2 separate regions of the Homo sapiens genome follow, and region 1 is linked to region 2. Evidence: promoter capture Hi-C in 16 types of primary human blood cells and fetal thymus (Javierre and others, 2016). All regions are on one chromosome and are shown on one strand. Each heading gives the region's core, a stretch centred on a gene start or on the middle of the fragment in contact. The rest is flanking DNA. Distances are from core to core; before and after follow the strand shown.

Evidence for each region. Contacts are between HindIII fragments. The CHiCAGO score rates a contact against its expected background, and 5 or more counts as called.
Region 1: a contact is called between a fragment that was not itself captured here and the fragment with the promoter of DNAJC5G in region 2, in 1 of 17 cell types (naive B cells). The highest score is 5.5, in naive B cells.

What each region holds. Positions count from the first base shown.
Region 1 is chr2:27,038,241-27,041,023 of GRCh38, reverse strand. TMEM214 (transmembrane protein 214) reads right to left here. Exons shown (of 17, transcript NM_017727.5): 11 at 2,492-2,540; 12 at 2,209-2,322; 13 at 1,860-1,977; 14 at 1,187-1,283; 15 at 826-994; 16 at 528-679; 17 at 1-313. The coding sequence ends at 187. Among named protein-coding and RNA genes, the nearest start is that of TMEM214, 6.7 kb to the right of the region's middle. RefSeq lists an enhancer at 1,015-2,214. The HindIII fragment of the contact is 1,903 bases long and covers 383-2,285 here.
Region 2 is chr2:27,274,172-27,277,175 of GRCh38, reverse strand. DNAJC5G (DnaJ heat shock protein family (Hsp40) member C5 gamma) reads right to left here and starts at 1,743. Exons shown (of 7, transcript NM_173650.3): 1 at 1,623-1,743; 2 at 789-1,070; 3 at 335-450. The coding sequence starts at 447. It also overlaps a transcript of SLC30A3 not described here. The HindIII fragment of the contact is 3,678 bases long and covers 1-2,724 here.

The DNA of each region.
Region 1 (2,783 bases), core at 85-2,584, 240 kb after region 2:
CTGAGATGCTGCTGGGCCCTGTCCCCACCAAAGATGGAAGAACTGAGGTGGAGGCAACTGGCCACTTGCCTAGGAGAGAACTCAGGCACCAAGTTAAAAAGACTCCCATGAAGAACTGCCACCTTCTACCCGCTGCAGTCTTGGATGGTCTACCCATGCAGAAATCAGTGGCCAGGAAGGCAGGGCCTACTGCTGGGATATCAGGGCAAGTGCCCAGTCCAAGAAAGCCACTGTAATGTCCTGTAGGCAAAGCCAGGTCCAGTGGACAGCCTCACTGAGCTGTGTCTTCATGCAGTCCCAGGTCACCTCACCTCTGGAAGGAAAGTGGAACATTTTTGAGTATGCACGTGAGTAGCTGTGTCAACTTTCGGGGATGAAAGCTTAGACCCACAACCCTCATCCCAGGGTGGCCAGGAATGGGAGCGAGGGGCAGGACAGTGTGGGAGACTGGATAGAGATGGCTTGTCCCTGGGGCCCGGGAATGGGGCTGCTGGGGATCCTGCCGGAGCCCTGGGCAAAGGTCTCACCTGCATGCCTCATGGCAGTGCTCCTGGGCCCAGGCCAGGGCCTCAAGCAAGAGGTGCCACAGTGGCAGCAGCACATTCTGGTGGAAAAGCAGGGGCAGCTCTCTCAGATAGCGGAGTAGCTGATTCACGGAATCGGGGAGCTGGATCTGTAGCTGGACCATGGAGAATGGATGGGGTCAGAGTATCCAGGGAACTGCATCCTGGCCCTAAAGACTCAGGCCACACAGTGCTGCTCCTTTCCCAGAATTCTGCTCCTGGGAAAACCAGCCCCTTATTTGACTCCCTGTCTCTGACTTACCCTCTGAGAGAGACTGGTGAGACTGTCACCAAACCACGCAAGGTGAGAGGCACAGTGGGCAGAAAGGAAGCTGACTGTGGCATTGGTGTGAGCCCAGGCCAGCTGCAAGCTGGGCCGCACCACGGTGAGCAGGTGGGAGCCCCAGAGCGGCAGTGTCTCCCCCAGCCAGCTGTGGAAGATGGAAGTGGGGGAAGAGGGCTCTGAGTCTCCTCAGGCCCACTTAGCTCCCAAGAAACAGCTGGGGAAAGGGAGGCCGTGGGAAAGGAGAATCACAAGCGCTTCCCACTGACTGTCGCCTCCTCCCTGACACCCAGGCCTTCTCTCTTCTGCCTCTCCTCTCCCCTCCCTGGGAGGAGCTCACCTGTAGCCTTGCAGACTGTAGGAGTAGAGCTTGGCACACGCTTGTTGGCTAGCAGGTAAGAAGCCAGATGATCGAAGCAACCGGCCAGTAAGGGAGGCTAAGTAAAGGGGGCCTCTGGTGAGCTGGGAGGTGAGAGGGGCAGGGACTGGGGAGACAGACACTACAGGGCCCAGAGCAGGCACAGCGAGGCGCTGGGCAGAGCTTTGTGTTCTCACAGGGCCACAAAGCCAGCTCCAGGCTGCTGTGGAGGGAGGCATGCAGAGCTGCCCTTCTCCTGCTGGGCCAGGTGTGCAGGAATGCAGCTGCCGGTTGGAGCCTAGGCTCAGGCTTCAGGAAGCCTCAGGTTGAGGGTCTGCCCTTCTACTTACTAGCTATGACCTAAAGCTAATTGCTACATCTTTCTGAGACCATTTCCTCAGGAGTTAAAAGGAGGTAACACCTACTAAAATGATACTATGAATATGCAAGCACTTCTATACTGCGAAGTCCTAGTCCAATCTGAAATGGTAGTGTCATATCTGTGGACAAAAAAATCTGTCTGTAAAGTGTTTACTCTGCAGGATTGAGAACTCGTCAGGACAAAGATGTGTGCTGCTGGGGGCGGGGTGGTGGTGCTACGTGTAGCTCTGTGCCCCGCCCACACCATCCTCCTCGCTTGCCCATTGCTGCTTACCCTGGAAGGAGCTGTGTGACCGGAGGTCATGGCACAGGAAGCCTACAGCGAAGACCAGCAGCAACAGGAGGAGCCGCGTCCAGGGCAGCCGAGGACCCTGAACCTGCTGCAACAGGCCCTGGTGGGAGGGGAGCAGGAGACAGTTGTCAGAAGCGAGGGGCTGGTCTTTGCCTCTGAGGGCAGACCTCAAGCCAGGCCTTCCCGAAAGAGCGTCAAGCCTTCACATTATCCTGGAGGCAGCGGGGGGCTCCAGACAGGTGGGGCAGGAATGTGATACAGGCCCAACCCAGGTGTGCTGAGACAGAGATGTAAGATAGCGTGTGGGCTGGAGAGGACCGGGTGCCAGCACCTTGCAGGCCATGTCACAGGTGACGACATCCTGGTTGTTACTGCTACCCTTCCTCAGCAGCTCCTGGTTGGTAAGCTTGAGGGACTGAATGGTTTCTTGCAAAGACTTCTGTACCTATGGACAAGAAAGGTCTGGCCTGTGAGGGAATCCAGAGCTTCCATCCTGCTTCATTTTCCATGCCAACAGGGTCCCTTCTCAGGGAAGGGACAGTGGCTGAGGAGCCCCCACTCAGAACCTAGAATCCAGACAGGGCTCAACCTGCCACGTCCTCCCAGCTCCTCACCTTCTTGGGAATCTGCTCCCAGGAGCTGAGCAAGTGCTCCAGCAGAAGGCTGTGGGGAAAGCACAACCCCCTAGTCAGGTGGCTCGCGCAGCCTCACCCATCCTCCTGTCCTCCATTAGCCCTGGCTCCTTCAGGCTGAAAGACCCTCCACCTACCACCCACAGAGCAGCAGCTTCCTAGAGGCTGCTCCAGCAATGTTCCCACTCAGCCTGAAAGGTGTCAGGCCATGGGACAGTGACCCAGGCTCCCCTTCTGCTTCTAGCACAGGGACAGGCTGGCCTCCCACCCCACC
Region 2 (3,004 bases), core at 494-2,993:
GAGGTCAGGAGTTTGAGACCAGCCTGGCCAACATGGCGAAACCCTGTCTCTACTAAAAATACAAAAATTAGCCAGGCGTGGTGGTGCACGCCTGTAGTCCCAGCTTCTCAGGAGGCTGAGGTGAGAGAATTGCTTGAACCTGGGAGGCAGAGGTTGCAGTAAGCCAAGATCGTGCCACTGCACTCTCAATAGTCTCTGTCTCTGCTCTGTGACAGGACGAGACTTCCTCTCAAAAAAAAAAAAAAAAAAAAAGAGTCAGATAGCAAAAGAGATACAGAAAGAAAAAGGTTTAAGGGGGAAATTCCAAGGATCAATAAAGGGCTGAGGTCTGAACCTGTAGGATTTTTTGAAGTCTTCAGGTGAGGCGCCCTTCTTAAGATCCAGCACTGCATAGAGGCTCATCTCACTTTTGGACAGCCGGTGTGCTGCTTCCTTCACAGTAGACATGATCTGAGCCAGAGGAGAAGCAGCATCTGTGAGAACTTCTACAAGTAAGGGTACCGAGAAGTGCACTTCCAGTGACAGGAAACTCACTACCTTCAGGGATTAGGCAGGTAAACGATGACAGAAGGACAAGGATAAGATAAGAGTGAGTGGGATTTGTGGCTAGCAGGAGAATTCAGGTGATCAGAAAGATTCCAATTTTAAGGAGGAAACATCTTCTCCTCACATTTCCCAGCATCCTCCAGCTACACAGACCTCTAGATATCCCACATCCTAGAGGTGTTGTAAGCAGGGAGAGGTCTAAGCCAGGAAAAGAGCCTGATTTTGTCTAGAGCTCCTATTACCTGGAGTAAACACCTCTGGGTCTGTCCAAGCTCACTGCTGGGTTTGAAAGACCAGGGCGGCCCCAGCCTGAACGGACAGGATCAGGAATCAGACAGCTCCACAACTTCTTCTTCTTTTTTTTTTTTTTGACGGAGTTTTTTGCTCTTGTTGCCCAGGCTGAAGTGTAATGGCGCGATCTCGGCTCACTGCAACCTCCACCTCCTGGGTGCAAGCGATTTTCCTGCCTCAGCCTCCCGAGTAGCTGAGATTACAGGTGCACGCCACCACGCCCGGCTAATTTTCTGTGTTTTTAGTAGAGACAGAGTTTCACCATGTTGGTCAGGCTGTTCTTGAACTCCTGACCTCAGGTGATCCACCCACCTCGGCCTCCCAAAGTCCTGAGATTACAGGCGTGAGCCATTGAGCCTCGCCGATCCACAGCTATTAAGAGAGAAACACTTCAGACCAAACCGTGTGAGGCCTAACAGAAGTCAAGTGTCCTAGAGCCTGGCGGGGGCGGGGGCGGGGGCGGGGGCGGGGGTGGGGAGTGCTTGCAGCTAGGCCTGGACTTGCTTCTTCCCTCCAGTCTCCTGCTCTCAAACCACCCCACTTCTGTCCCTCAGAGGTGGGACAGTGGGGAGAGGAGGAAGAGGACTCAGAGGCTGGAGAAGGAAGAGAAAAGGCGTTGCTGTGGGAAAGACCTGGCAAGGAAAAGGCAGCGGAACCCCAGAGAGCAGGGTAGACGCCTGCGGCCCAGGAGAACCGAGCAAGGCAAGGAGCTCAAAGGGAGAGCTCTGAGTGTGCAGGGCACCTCTGGCCCTGTGCCGACTCCTCACCTGGGTCTGGCCCTTTACCTGGGAGTCGTTCTCTTAAGCCAGGTGGGTGCCCTTCATCCTTTTGGGTGTGAAACTTCACACCGGCCGGGTCCAGCAGTTGACTGCGCTTGTGCGCAGCGTCGACGCTGAGGGTCTGGGCAGGTCGTTTTTTGGCGCCCCCGGAAGCACTGGGTGGGGAGGCCACATTGGCCCTGGGACTTATTTCGCGCGCAGGGAAGCGAGAGCGGAGGGCTTAGCAGGCCTGCGGCCCAAGGCAGCGTAGGAGCGTTGCTGCCAGGCCTTGGGGCAGGGATTCCCACCGAGCCCCTCTTCCCCAGCAGGAGGGCACCACCCATCTTGATGGCCCAACTCACTCCAGGAAACACAATGGGTTTGCTGACCGTGGCGGATGAGAGGTATGGCTGCTGCATGCCCTTCTTAAGAGGTGTGTTACCTTCCCAGTTGTCTTCAGGACTTAGGGCTCTCCGCTTGGTCCCTCCTTCTCTTCCACCCGGAAACACCTCCACAACCTGGAAGACCCAACTCATATGCCCCTGTTCCTGACACTCCATCATTCACTCTCCCAGTTGTTCCCACTTCGTCTGTCAAAGCATTTCTCCTAGTATATCGTAATGATGAGTTTGCACGTCTCATTAAAATGATGTATTGAGCCTTTTCCAAAAGTCACTACCGTGCTTCAAAAACGTCACTTAAATATGATGCCATCATGAGCATGTCCCATAATGTAACCCAACTTGGCTGTTTCAGTTGTTTCTATTTGATAATATAATAACCTTATAAGGAAAATTCAACAGAAATCCTTGAACAAATGTCTAATTTTTTTTCCTAAGGATACATTCTTAGAAGTGGAATTATTGGGTCGAAATGATTTTTTTTTTCTTTTTTCTTTTCTTTTTTTTTTACGCTCTTGATCTCTATTGCTAACTTTCTTCTGGAAAGGTAGCAGAAGGAGGATTTGTATCCCCACCTGCTGGCATGGGAGCATGCCTCTACCTGGCTTCCCTTCCTGTGAGTTTCTACAGGAGGTAGTGTTTGCATCACTTATAATTTACTACTTTGTAGTGCTGGTTTTCTTTGCAAGAGCACTCAATGGCTCCTGTAACATGTAGTAGAAAAAGCTTTGTTACTTGGAAAATGCTTATCTGTTAACCTTTTTGTAGCTTTTATCACTCTCTTCCTTTTATTACAGTTATTTGTGCACATTTTCCTCACCTTGTAGGTTTTTTTTGTTTGTTTTGTTGTGTTTTGAGGTGGAGTCTCACTCTGTCACACAGGCTGGAGTGCAGTGGCACAATGTCTGCTCACTGGAACCTCTGCCTTCCGGGTTCAAGTGATTCTCCTGCTTCAGCCTTCCAAGTAGCTGGGATTACAGGTGCCTGCCACCACGCCTGGCTAATTTT